Linked DNA regions of Homo sapiens: region 1 is linked to region 2. The links are contacts of gene promoters, found by promoter capture Hi-C in human tissues and cell types (Jung and others, 2019). All regions are on one chromosome and are shown on one strand. Each heading gives the region's core, a stretch centred on a gene start or on the middle of the fragment in contact. The rest is flanking DNA. Distances are from core to core; before and after follow the strand shown.

What was found. Contacts are between HindIII fragments. The study calls those that stand out against the background at their distance.
Region 1: a contact is called between a fragment that was not itself captured here and the fragment with the promoter of VAPA in region 2, in 1 of the 25 tissues and cell types used here (hippocampus).

Annotation. Positions count from the first base shown.
Region 1 is chr18:10,472,799-10,479,280 of GRCh38, reverse strand. The region is part of intron 3 of APCDD1 (APC down-regulated 1); the gene reads right to left. Among named protein-coding and RNA genes, the nearest start is that of APCDD1, 21 kb to the right of the region's middle. RefSeq lists a silencer at 1,475-1,769. The HindIII fragment of the contact is 3,578 bases long and covers 1,134-4,711 here.
Region 2 is chr18:9,908,603-9,915,794 of GRCh38, reverse strand. VAPA (VAMP associated protein A) reads right to left here and starts at 1,779. Exons shown (of 6, transcript NM_194434.3): 1 at 1,460-1,779. The coding sequence starts at 1,538. LOC124904245 (a long non-coding RNA gene) reads left to right here and starts at 1,847. Exons shown (of 2, transcript XR_007066284.1): 1 at 1,847-2,083; 2 at 2,462-2,862. RefSeq lists an enhancer at 660-1,277 and silencers at 795-1,584, 1,795-1,844. The HindIII fragment of the contact is 8,911 bases long and covers 1-6,336 here.

The sequences.
Region 1 (6,482 bases), core at 1,673-4,172, 560 kb before region 2:
TGATGGAAACTTCCTTTCCTAGGGTTTTGTTCCCTCGGATAAAAAACACACAAATGTTTCTCACAAAGAAACCTGCAGTGGCCAATGGCCCACGTTGAAAACTTTCTTTGTAACTGCGATGTGCCAAGTATTTGATTAAATTTCTGCTGTAGATAACCCTGCAGGTACATCCTTCTCGGGTCTTCTGTATTACGAGTCCTTTGAGGCCAAGACCAAGTGTTCTCTCTTTGTCATATTTCCCATGACATCCAGGAGAGAGTTGCACAGGGTTCTCGGCTAACAGGCAAACGGAGAGAAAGCTGGCATTGGACATGTAAAGAATTAAATGGAGTAGCTAGCATTCATCACAAATGATGGGCGCCCACCTGCCTTGTGGGAGGGAACTCGGGGTGCTTTTCCTATCTGGGATTCTAGGAGCTTGTGAATTGGGGCTCATTTTGATCATCTAAAGGGAGCATGATGATGCCACTTTCAGAAGGAAGTGGGTGAAGAGCTGTGGCTTTAGGTACAGACTGCCCAGGCAGGCTTGCTGTCTATCCAACACACTGAATGTTTGTGTCGCCTCAAAATCCATGTTAAAATCCTTACCACGAATGTGAGGAAATTAGGAGGTGGGGCCTGTGGGGGGTGACTAGGTCATGAGGGTACAGCCCTTAAGAAGGGGATTAGTGCCCTTATAAAAGAGGCCTGAGAGTTCTCCAGCTGTCTTGCTGCCACATGAGGATACAGAGGGAGGTCAGCAGTCTGCAACCTGGGAGAGAGCCCTGACCAGGATTCCAGCCTCCCACCATGCTGGTGCCTTGATCTTGGCTCTCCAACGTCCAGAACTGTGAGAAGTGAGTGGCTGTCCCCAGTCCATGCTGCTTTGCTATGGCAGCCTGGATGGACTGAGGCACCTGCTGCCCAGCACCCACTCTCCACAGGTGAGGGCAGCCCCTCAGTGTACAGACCCCGTGCAGCTGCGTCATCCCTGCCAGGATGCAGGCACCTCTGTGGTGCCAGGGGTACTCAGAGAGCCTCAGGGAGGCTGCACAGCCACCTCGGGCCTGTTACCACTGTCCAGGAAGGGGCCTGGGCCAGGAGGATGAGGGAGAAAAGGAGAAACCAGGCTGCTAATTCCTGAGTCTGTAGTTGGCTATGAAGCAGAGGGGAGCAAAACTCAACCAAACACTTCTGCACCCTGGAGTTCAGCAGGGGCAGCTGGTAGGTCCTTAAGAGCAACATTAGCCTTCTGGAAATGGACTTCCAAGGCAGCTTAGAATCTGAGAAGTGAGCTCACAAAGGCCTTTTTTTGTTTTAGTTAACATTAGAATAATAAAAAAGACCATTTTGCCTCACCCAGCAACTGGAGAAAAAGGACCCTAAGAAGATGGTTCTTTAAGAGAAAAGACTTTAAGAATGGTTTCCGAAAAGAATTTTTATTTCTTTTTACTTGTTTCTTTCTTCCACTCCTATGCATTTTGATTCATTTAAATAATTAAAGTAGACTTATTAAATCTGCTGTAAATCCACTGGGCACTCCTGGCTGGCCCATCCTCTTCCTTTCTCCCCTGGGGCTCAGCAAACACTCCCTGGAGTAGGGACCTCATGCGTACTTTTTAAATGGCCAATTTCCTGCTTTTGCAGGGTTTCCTCATGTCCTCTGAGCTTTCTTGCCTTTTAAGGGATAAAATATTTACCACTTGCATTGTCCCTGACAACAAATATTTCCTGGTCCCCTAACTCCTTAAATAAAGCAACCTTGCATGCCTGTTTATCTGCTGAAATACTCTGGAGTCAAGAAATATAATGAGCTGTTTCTGCAATAGAAGTGTCTATCAGCAGCCTTGTAGCCCAGTGATTGTGACACTGCACACCTCGGCCCAGATAAAAGGTCCACAAAAGCAACCCCTTCAGGGTCAAGACCCCCTCAACCTATCCCAATTGCCAGCTCTGTTTTTTCATAGAATTGTGCAACATTTGCTGCCTTATAGGAAACACCTGGCTCCAGGGAGCAGTCACAGTTTTCTTCTAGGGTTCTCCTTCCTGTAAGACTAGTTCTTGAAACTGTCTTAGGTCATGACTTCTTGAACTTCTGGTTGTCCACCACCTCGTCCATCTCCCATCACCTCTGCAAATCCACACTAGCAGAAAGAAAAGTGGTATGGAATTCTTCCACAAGCACCTGGCTCCTTCTATACCCCAGAGACGCAGCCGCCCACCCACCCAGGAGCCACACCAAGCACATGCTCAGGAGACGTCCCTCCATGCTGGCTCCTGCAGCTAGGCTGAAAAGTCCAGGCTCCAAGACCACCTGACTCAACATCCCCATGGTGTCACTGACATCAGGAAGCTGCACAGGTCACACATCCTCTAAAAAGCCTCTGAGAGGCAAGCTACCTCAAAAACATATGCTGGCTCCAGCCTAGCGGCTCCTAAAGAATTTGAGAGAGAAAGCACAGCATGCTCTTTTTCTGCAGTTCTCAGGTACTCCCAAAGCCCGGTGCTTTTCTCCCTCCCGTGTGTAGCTCCCCTGCTGTACATGTGCTGGGATCGAGTATTTCAGATGCACAGCCTGGGGAAGGCTGTCTGGTTTTCAGACAGCCCCTTTGATTTACGATCCTGTGGTTAAATCAGTGCAGGATTTTGGAGAAAGACCAATTCCATTTGCTTACGAGTCTGATCCTGAGGCTCTGGCATCTCTAACGACCTTGGCAATCATTTGCTTTTAATTACCATTTGATTCCATCCCTGAAAGAATGAGCCTGGCTTCTACCCCTCCAACTGCATAGTTCTGAAGAATCTCGGCAGAGGATTATGGCTGCTCTGACGCTAAACTTGATTCAGGCAAAGCATCTTCTTTCAGGGTTACTTTACGCTGTCTTGACTTTTTTATAATGAAGAGTAGCCAGTTCCATCCTGAATGAACCCTCCCAGCACACCTGAATCTCTTCAAACGTCACTTATTTGCCAAAGGACTCTGGACCTCACAGCAAAGCTGTATAAAGCTTAGAAAAACAAGTTGACTTAAAGTTTCTATTTTTACACGGTGTCCTGTTTCTAGAGGGGCTGAGGCTCGTGGTTTGAAACTCAATTTAGCATTTAAACTAATTTTCAGCTTGGTCTCTATGGACCAGCAATTAGGGAAGTAGAAGAGTTCAAAGGAGGAGGTTCCAGCCTCTCCTGGGCAGGCGTGTACGGTCTTTGAAGACGTTCTCCCAGCCTTTCTTCCTGTCTCCGCTGGCGGCCACAGACAGCTCGGACAACCTGCTGTGGCTGGGCCCGCGTGGGCACACAGTGCCCAGTCTTTCTGGTGCCCGGGTCTGGAAAGACACCAATGGCTGAGTCCATTTTGTTCCTTCTCAGAGCTGTCCTGGGGAAGGATCTGAAAACTTCCTGAAGACTCCGCTGCACACTGCAGGCCAAGAGGTACAAGGCGAGAGACAAGAGAAGAATGGACCCTTTCAGCTACCAGAGCCACTCGGCCTTCCACTGACCCCCCCCCCCCTCAGCCATCTTGCGAGGCAGCTAGGCTGGCTCAGGAAGCCTGGGTCCTCCTTCCAGCTGGGCTGCCACCTGCATCTGTGGCCACAGCATTCCTCTGGGTCTGGGAGTGTTTGCTTGCTTTTTTTTTTTTTTAATCTAAATTTTCTGTGATGACTGTGCTTAGGTAATAGAAGATCACAGCACAAAATGCAACAGGTACCAAAAGTGAAGTCTCTGTCCGACAATCCCAGATAGACAACTCTGTCACTTCCTCTGAGGCAGTCATTAATTTCCTCCATAAATATCTGATTCCTTTGCAAAGAGTCCCTCTTCTTCTCCTTTCATTATTAGTTTTATGCAGATGGTATCATATTATTCACGCTATTTTATAACTTCCTTTTTTCCTACTTAACAATATGTCTCGTGTAGTATCTAAGGTCCTAAAGCTCTTTCCACCTTAATTTTCTGTCATCAAGGAATCAGGCCTGGGATTTAAAGAGTCTATTTCTTAAGAATCTGGGTAAATGTTCCCACAACTGCCTTAGCAGAGCAGGGAGGAGAAAATGGGAGGAAGTGTTTTATGGCTAGGCATCATGAAACACTTTGATGTTCCCTGGTCAGTCGACATTGTCATTTTCATTCCTCTCTGAGCCATTGGCCCAGAAGGGCGACTTACTCTAGGTTAAGAGAGATGGAGCTTTGCATTCAGGCCCTATCCTGATGCCCACAGGATTCTGCACATTAACCCTATTGATTCTTATATTTTTGCCATTTTACAGAAAAGGAAAATGAAGTCTCCAGTAGGTCAGATAACTACCAATGCCACACGGCTGATGACAGCAGAACTGGCTTCCAGGATTGGCTACCGTTTCTGAAGTCCACATACTTGCCAATTTGTCCAAAAGGTGTTAAATTCTAAAAAGGTCAGCTTTACAATTGCTGTCTTTAATTGCCATGCCAATATTTAATAATTTTCACTTGTGGGGCATTTTCCCTCCAGGAGCCACAGACAGGTCTGCAGAGGGACATTGACGGGAATGAAGTGTCCCCTCCTGGAGTACCCCTGGGCGCCAGCCTTAACAATGCTGACTGGGCTTTCAGACTCCATCTGCGGAGCCACACCCAGGAGTGCAACGGGGTAGAGAGGCAGGTAAGAAAATAAACGTGATGATGGTTAATTTTTCCCCCAGTACTAAAAAGAGCAGAAGAGATCAGAGCCCGTGCAGGCGCATGAAGGTGAGGAAAAGGAACCAGAACCTGAGTGGGTGCAAAGGACTAGTCCAAGGTCGGGTTCGGAGCCCACAGCCCGGCCCACGCCCGCCCAGCAAGTTCCCCAGCCGCACCTGCCTCCTCACTCAGACCTCGCACTCAAGGCTCCCCGTGCTTTTTGGTGTTTTGAGGCTCTTTGGTGTCTCTGCTAGAAAGTGGGCAGGCTTTTCCTATTCAGCAGACCTTCACAAAGGCCCCGAGGGAACGGCGGGTTGCGGGGATGCTCCTGGCTAACCCCAGGTTTCTGGATTATCTGTGGGCCGTTTTAATTCATGACATTCACACCTTCCTCCCGTTACCTGAGATCATTTGAAAGATGGCGGCCGGGCGGACGGTGGCTCACGCCTGTAATCCCAGCACTTTGGGAGGCCAAGGCGGGCGGATCACTGGAGGTCGGGAGTTGGAGACCATCCTGGCCAACATGGTGAAACCCCATCTCCACTAAAAATACAAAAATTAGCTGGGCATGGTCGTGGGAGCCTGTAGTTCCAGCTACTTGGAGGCTGAGGCAGGAGAATCACTTGAACCCGGGAGGCGGAGCTTGCAGTGAGCCAAGATGGTGCCACTGCACTCCAGCCTGGGTGACAAGAGCAAAACTCCGTAAAAAAAAAAAAAAAAAAATCCCAGAAAGGTGGCTAGACTATACTCAGAGCGAGCCAAAGGTAGGTATGAAGCCCCTTCTCCTGCTACTATCTCAAACCAAGTGGACCTGGCCAGTATAAAACAAGAGAAATGCTATGCAGCTACAGTGTCCAGTGCCGCCTTTGGGCAGTGCTGCCAACCAGAAAGGCCCCAAAGTATAATTCGAAGCCCATTATTCTTACCCATTTTCCCAAGACACCCACTCAACCCTGACCCAGAAAGCACACCCCAGTCCAGGTATCACCCTATGAGCCGATTCTCCTTCTGATACCTGCCCAGGGGAATCAACATGTTGAAGGGCAGAGTTTTGGTCTCCTTTCCCTGTGTCCCATTCTAGGAAAACCTCTGGGACCCCCTGACAGCTGCAGCAATGGAGCCGGCATCAGAGGCTGCCCTCCCTCTCTGCCCTAATTCATGTTGGCCTCTTCAGTGCATTTGAAACTTACAAGGCAGAATGAAATGAGCCTGGCTCCTGATCTGTGTTGGAACAAACCCCCAAGGGCATCCTGAGCCGGCAGGAATGCTGGGCCTGGGCACATGGGCTGAGCACAGGGCTTCATCTCACACGCGGGGACACAGCCATGAAAAGATTCATCCAGAGGAAGCAGCCTCCACCAGGTGGGCTTTCTCAGTAGCTATTTCATTATTATAATAAGAGCCACTTGCATTGCACAAGCTCACAATAACATAGATTAAAAAAAGATAACACGGAGCAGTCTTTGGCAGAAGTGCCCTGTGATACCTCTATTGGTTATGAGTAGTCTTGGAGGACTAATAAGAAAAAAGATTTTTAAAAAATGAAGAAACCACCAAACAAAAGTTAAGCAGGGCTCCACAGTTACAGAGCCACCGTGCTAGAGAGTGTTCCACGAAGTCAATGGGGACGGCCGGGGAGATACTCCACAGAGACCTGCCCACCGCCCACCCGCAGCAGGCCCGGGTCTGCACGTTCACACTACGCACTGGGCAGAAGCCCACTCCCCTCCTGCCTGGGACTTCACAGGCTCTGCGGGGAGATGGTGGAGGTGATCGAGTTACACATGGACGTGTACTCTAAGCTTGTGGGAAGGAAATGCCTTGTGAATTCCAAATATAATTACTAGAAT
Region 2 (7,192 bases), core at 530-3,029:
ATTCAAAGAAATTTGTAAACGCACTAAAAAGCTTGCAATGTAGTTATGCAATATTAATCTCATAATTCCAGAATATATTTTAAATTCCTAAACCTGAAGTTTTTCCTATGGAAAACAATGTAGTTGGCTTTCTCTTGGACTCAGCCTTACACAACAATAAAGGATTTAATTTTTTCTTTTAGCACTAGAATTGCTATACACCTCACAAAAATTGTTCTCATTCAACAATTGAAATACAAGACATAGACTTCCAAAACGGGACTCACTTTACACTTAACTAAAGATAGGAAGGAACCTACTTTCTATTAGATGTTCACACTCTTTCAGTATTCCTTAAAAACAAAGAAAAAAAATAAAAATCTGTACATTTTAACTCTCTTTCCTAAAGTACACTACATATTGACAAGGAAACCGACCAAAAGCCCCTGGGATTCTTCCAGGATCACCAAGTCAGACTAAAAAACTTATCACAGGCAGTACTACAAAAACCTACAAAGTTCCAGAGCTGGGTGACACCTTATCAGCCTTCTCAGGATCTGTCGGAAACCGCAAACGTAAAAGCAAAAAAGTCACACGCACTGAAGGTTTCTCAGCAGAGGAGCTCAACTAAAGGGCTAAATAAAAGCACGCGGGTGGCACACTGAAATGTCGTAGAAGGCAGGAAGCCCCGCTACTATGAACCTACAACTCTCCGTTTGCGGCTGACGCATCGCTCCTGCCCGCACGCACCTGGGTCCGTGCCAACAGCACCGGGCAGCCCTCGCCAGGCACCTCCAAGGACTCTCCACCTCCCCGGCGCGTCCTACACCTGACGGCCGAGTTCTAAACCTGGCGGAAAGGTGACAAGCGACGCCCTCCGCGGAACCCGAGGGCCGGCTGCAGCGAGCTCTCCCCGGGCCGGGGCAGGGGTCGGGGGGCGGCTCTCACTCCCAAGGGGTCCCGCGCCGTGCCCTAGCCTCCCCGCGCCGCTGACAGCCGGGAGCGGGCGACAGACGCAGCTTGCGCCACCTCCAGAGCCCACTCCCCGCCGCAGCCCAGAGCGCACGCCCTCGGGTGCCCAGCCGCCCACGCCCCGCCGAAGCACGCCGTCGGCCTCTGGGGCCAAGGACGCGGGCCCAGGCGGACCGCGGCGCGGGCGGGACCGGACGCCCAGGAGGCGCCCCCGCGGGACCGCAAGATGGCGGCGGCGGCGGCGCCAGGGCCGGGCTCCCCTCCGCCTCGCCCCGGCCGGCGCGCGCACCGCAGCGAGGGCGGGCGGGAGGGGATGAAGCGGGCCGGAGCAAGGGGCAGGCCGGCCGAGGTGGCGGCAAGAAAGCAGCCGGGAAAGGGAAGGCGCCGGGGCGTGGGGGAGGGGGCGCTCCCTCGGGCCAGGGCCGCGGACGTGCCCTCCGCGCCCCCCCGCCGACAGCCAGCGGTCCGCGCGCCCCACCCCACCCGGGGGTGTCCCCGTTCTGCCTACCTTTGAATTTGAGGTCTGTGGGCGGATCGAGGACCAGGATCTGCTCGTGCTTCGCCATGGCCCCTGAGGCGGACGCCATCGGAGAGACAGCGCAGAGCGGGGGCGCGCCCGCGGCGGCGGTTTGCTGACTGGGGGCGGGGGACGACGGCGGCGACGGCTCGGCCGAGCTCTAGGACGAGGCCAGGCTCGCGGCTCCCGAGCCCTAACGCCTGCCGCTGTGTCACCGGTTCGGTGGGCCACCCGCTGGGTCAGCAGCTCCGGGTCCCACAACTGACTCAACCCCACACCAGCCGCCACGGCCACGCGCACTTGCGAGCCTCGGCGACCCACGTGACGGCCTCTGCGTGCCTACGTGCGCGCCCCCGGCCGGGAGCTTCTAGCGCTTGTCCCGCCCTCCAGGCCGGCCTAGCGCGGCGCGGGGCTGCTGCGCCTGCGCGCTCGCGGCTTGCCGCGGCCCGGAGCGCAGCCCAGCTGTCAAGGGAACGGGTGTGGAAGGAGGCGGGGCAAAGGTCCGCGGGACCGACGCGATGCGCAGCGCAGGGCTGGAAGCGCAGTCCTCTGTCACCTTGAGCTCCGAGTACGGAACTAGAGAAACTGCTCTGGCAGCGCATCACACTCTTCCAAGTGGGAATGCCCAGTGGAAGGGACAAGTAGTAGTAGGGAAGCGCCCACTCACTACAACTCCCGGCATGCCCCCTGCGGGGCGGGGCCTTCGCCGAGGGCCTGGCCCTTTGCGGCCCTGCGCGGTGCTTGCTGGGAACTGTAGTAACGGCTGTTTGAGGGTGGAAAGGAGAGCTAGGTCTGTTGGAGGCAATGGGGTGGGGTTCGCGGACGCTAATTTTGGCTCTCAGAGCGCGTCTAGTTTGCGCTAAAAAAGAAAAAACTTGAAGACTGAAACGAGGCCCCAATGTTAGAAATATATTAATAAAATCTGCCCTGTGGAGAACAGGCGTGGGGGGATGTGTCCGTTTGCTCTAATTCTATCCAGTCCTCTGTTGGCAGGGCTGCATTCCCCGTGGTATCCAATTCAGCCTCTCCTGCTTCCTGAGTTCTCTCCAGTGATGCAAAATCAGATAAGGAAACACACCTCGTCTAGGAAGCAAGGGGAAATATGACAAAGCACACAGAAACTAGAAATAAAAGTCAAAAATCTACACCATCGAACCCAAATAATCTTCTTCAGTTTTAATGATGGACCCAAACCAAAACAGTTCTCACGTTCACATGTTAGAAACTAACTCCATCTGCATCACTTACGATAGGCTGTAGTAAACTGAACCAAATAAGAAAAATCCCAGCAGCAAACTTGCTGACAAAACTTTAGCCGATTGCCAGGGTAGTCCGGTACAGGAACGTCAAATGAAACCAATGTGCTGTAAATAAACCTTTATTGTATTTTGTGATACGGTTTGAATTTAAATCCCTAGGTAGCGCCACGAAACAAAAGACATATTGATGCTACTGCCATGGAGCAGCACAGTTTGTCTAGAAAATAAACGAGACGAAACAGCAGTCTAGAAGTAGGCACCAAATCCAAGTTTTCATGTGCGATCCAGGTATTAGGGTCCATCCAGGAACAGCCTGCTGGAATTGCTAGCCTGGCATTCACAGAAGATTGTGCCACCCACGAGGAATGTGTTTTCAGCCCTGAAATTCCTGGGAGTGAGAGGTGAAGCCAGCTGGATTTCTGGGTTGGGTGGGGACTTGGAGAACTTTTCTTACAAGAGGATTGTAAAATGCACCAATCAGCACTCTGTAGCTAGCTAGAGTTTTGTAAAATGCACCAATCAGTGCTCTGTAAAAACGCACCTATCAGCACTCTGTAGGTAGCTAGAGGTTTGTAAAATGGACCAATCAGCACTCTGTAAAATGGACCAATCAGCAGGGCATGGGCAGGGACAAATAAGCCAATAAAAACTGGCCACCCCAGCCTGCAGGGGCAGCCTGCTTGGGTCCTTTTCCACATTGTGGAAGCTTTGTTCTTTTGCTCTTCACAATAAATCTTGCTGCTGCTCAGTCTTTGGGTTTGTGCCATCATTTCTTTCTTTCTTTTTTTTTTTTTTTTTTTTTGAGAGGGAGTCTCGCTCTGTCCCCCAGGCTAGAGTGCAGTGGCGTGATCTCAGCTCACTGCAAGCTCCGCCTCCCAGGTTCACGCCATTCTCCTGCCTCAGCCACCTGAGTAGCTGGGACTACAGGCGCCTGTCTCCATGCCCAGCTAATTTTTTTATATTTTTAGTAGAGGTGGGGTTTCACCGTGTTAACCAGGATGGTCTCGATCTCCTGACCTCATGATTCACCCGCCTTGGCCTCCCAAAGTGCTGGGATTACAGGACTGACCTAGTGATCCACCCGCCTTGGCCTCCCAAAGTGTTGGGATTACAGGCATGAGCCACCACGCCTGGCCTGGGTTTGTGCCATCTTTAAGAGCTGTAACATTCACCGTGAAGGTCCGGGGCTTCATTTTTGAAGTCAGCAAGACCAGGAACCCACTGGAAGGAATCAACTCCGGATGCAGGAGGATAGAGTGCTTAAGTAGTTTGAAGCATATTCTAAATTTACCTTTACTGTGATTTCTTCCTATTCACAAAATTTATTTTGAGATGTCAATTATCATTAAGGTAGAATACAAAAAAAATTGTTTATTAAAATGGGGGTTCAAGTTTTGTTTTTGTTTAAGAAAAAAAAAAAGCTAAAAGTGACAATCAGTCCAAAGGATAGTGTCCCACATAGGTTTAGTTGTGAATTGACAACCCTAAAGGCCCTCACAAACTCCAGTTTTTTGCCGGCCTAAGAACTCTCTTCCATGGGCCAGCTAGCCTAGGCTGATCCAGTCCCTCCATAGCAGGAAGCACACTTCTCTTACCGGAAACCATTTGGGAAGCCCCCATGTGCAAATAGTCAACTAGCAGAATAGCATGCGGAGGAAATTCCCAGTAACTCCCCTATGGGAGGATGAATGATCGCCCATTCACTATAGATTTAATGGGAAGCCTGAATTGGATGTATTCTAGTTTCCCAGTCTATATTATTAAGAAATCTCTGCCCATTTGAGTCATCTGTCGTTGGAATCAACTGTTTTTTCACTTCTCAATATTGCTTCAAAAATCATGTAGGTATAGTCTTAAAACATATAAGAATTTAAAATTCTAATATTCTAAGAATATGTGAAACATCTTGGGATTAATCCCCTATTCGTATTTTAGAGCATTAGATTAATAATCACTGAGTCATTTTGAATCTTCTACTTCACATCGAATTGTGCACTATTTAAGTGGTTTGTGCTTTGGTATTTATTAGTACTTTTCTTCCAGCACTACAAACTTTACAAACATCATCACACCCTACTCAGAACAACTTCATGACAGTTGGCAAGTGCCGCTTTTGTTGTTAAATGTGGAAATGAAAACACAGATGACAGCATCTCATCTTAGTAATAGAGCTCAGCTATGGGCAGGGGACATTGCCCAATGTTCTATTCTGTGCATTTTTGCTCTTCCCAAAGCCGCAATAAAATGACAACCCACAATTTAAAATGTCATTGACTTCTCTATTGTTTAACATTTAAGCTAGGAATAATGAACCATGTGACCTATGTTCATTTTGTTTGCTCTTTTTAGATTGGCTAATGCAGCACAGAAAGGCCTTAAAGTATTAGCAAATATATACACTCCAGCATATCAAGCAACCAAATTTTCATGAGTCTAAGAAGTACAAAGGCTTTGAATATTATTTCAACCTATTTGAATCACTAATAGTATTCACCTTTGGACAAGTTCTCTCTTATGGACTTGGCAAAGATTTTTTTTTGTTTTCAGTACGGATAGTATCAAAGTACTTATACCCCTCTACTTCTCCATAGTTAAACATGTTAAACTTTACAGTAGAGGTGCTCTATAATTATGAATTTGTTTATGAGCAATTCTCTGAGTTATTGACTTCAGTGAACATTTAAACAGGCATGCTTTCCATAAATATTGAGGCAGTAAAGTAAAATACAGGCTTTGAATCTAGACTGCTAGGTTCAAGTTCCATTTTCCACTGTGTGATCTTTGCAGCTCACTCCACCTCTCTGTGCCTGTTTTACATCTGTAAAATGAGAAGAAGAAGAATACCTACATTCTGGGTTTGTTACCAGGATTCAATGAGTTCCTACACATGAAGAGCTTATAATAGTGCCTGATTCCAGCACTGTTACCTTATTAATATTAAATGTTAAATTACTGCTGTGTGCCCAGCACTGTGGCAGGTACTGGTGATTAGTCATGAGCTGATAGACATGGTCCCTACCCTTATAGGCTTACATTCAAGAGTGAGAGACAAAAGTGAAATAACTATACAATTATTTCATTTGAATTGTGGTAAACACTAGGAACGAGAGGTCTAGGGTACTGGGAGAGTAACCTGTGGGAACTGAGTTGAGGGTTTGGAGATTATCTCCTTCAGGGAGTAATAAGAAGTATCTCCTGAAGGATATCTGGATACCCAGGAAAGGAGAACAGAATATGCAAAGGCCAGACTGACATGAGCGTGGCTCATTGCAAATTGTAGAAGAAAGGCTGATGTGTTATGGTAAATAAAGTGGGTAGTGAGTAGCAGGAGATGAGGCTGAAAAGCCAGATTATGCAGATTGTTTCAGGCCATATTAAGGATTTGAGTCTTTATCATAAGAAAATAGGAAACCATCAAAGGGTTTAAACAATAGAGTCATATGAGCAATTCTTAAAAGTTCTCTTGACTACAATGTGGTGATTGGATTAGGGGGAGTAAGAGGGAATATGGGGAGAACTGTTTAGATTAGTGCTATAATTCAGAAGACAGAGGATGATATTACAGAGGATGGTATTGCAGAGAATGACAGTTTGGGCTAAGGTAGACACAGTGGAGATGGAGCAAATAAATACGAACAGATTTGAGAGATATTTAGGTGGTAGAATCAATAACCAATCAGCTATTGATTAGATACAGGGGTGGTAAGAGAAAGTAAGAGAGTGAGGAATCACTCCCCTTCTTCCGGTGTGTGCAGGTGAATGAATGATGGTACTAGTCACAGAGACAGAGGACCAGATTCTGATGTTGGGGTGCAGGGAAGGAAAGATCACTAAGCCAGTTTGATGTAAGATGCCTTTGAGACATTCATGAGGAAATGTTAAATAAGCAATAGAGTGTTCTGGTGGGAACTCAGGAGCAGCAGCTCTGTGCTGAAAACTGAACCTCCAAGTCTTGAGCATGAATGGTCACGGGCATGTAGGAGGTCACCTAATACAGACAGAGAAATGACCAGAACCTCATACTCCTTCTTGGGAAACTGCAACTTTCAAATATCTCATTAAGTAGAATGAGTTAGCTTGGGTGGAAGAAAAGTGGCCAGAGAGGTAAGTAGGAAAGGAGGCCATGGTTATTACTATGGATGGCTCAGTTGTCCCCATTCGGACTTCCTCCAGGGTTGCCTTACTGTATTGCGGAAGCCACTCCTTTGCATCTAGGCTCTTTTTTGGAATGAGAAAACCCTGGAGACTTAATGTATCCACCTTAGTGGCTCACAACATTGTACTTGACCTTATAGCTGTGATAAAAATTCTTGAACCCTTGGAAAACTCACACATTGCCTACTTTTCTCAGATTCTGTTGATCTCTCCTCAGCTCCCTCTAAATGACTTGTTTGCCAGTGCCAGAGCATGCTGGCAAAAAGAAAAAGCCCAACAAGCATCAGGACTCCAGAGGACTGAACCACCA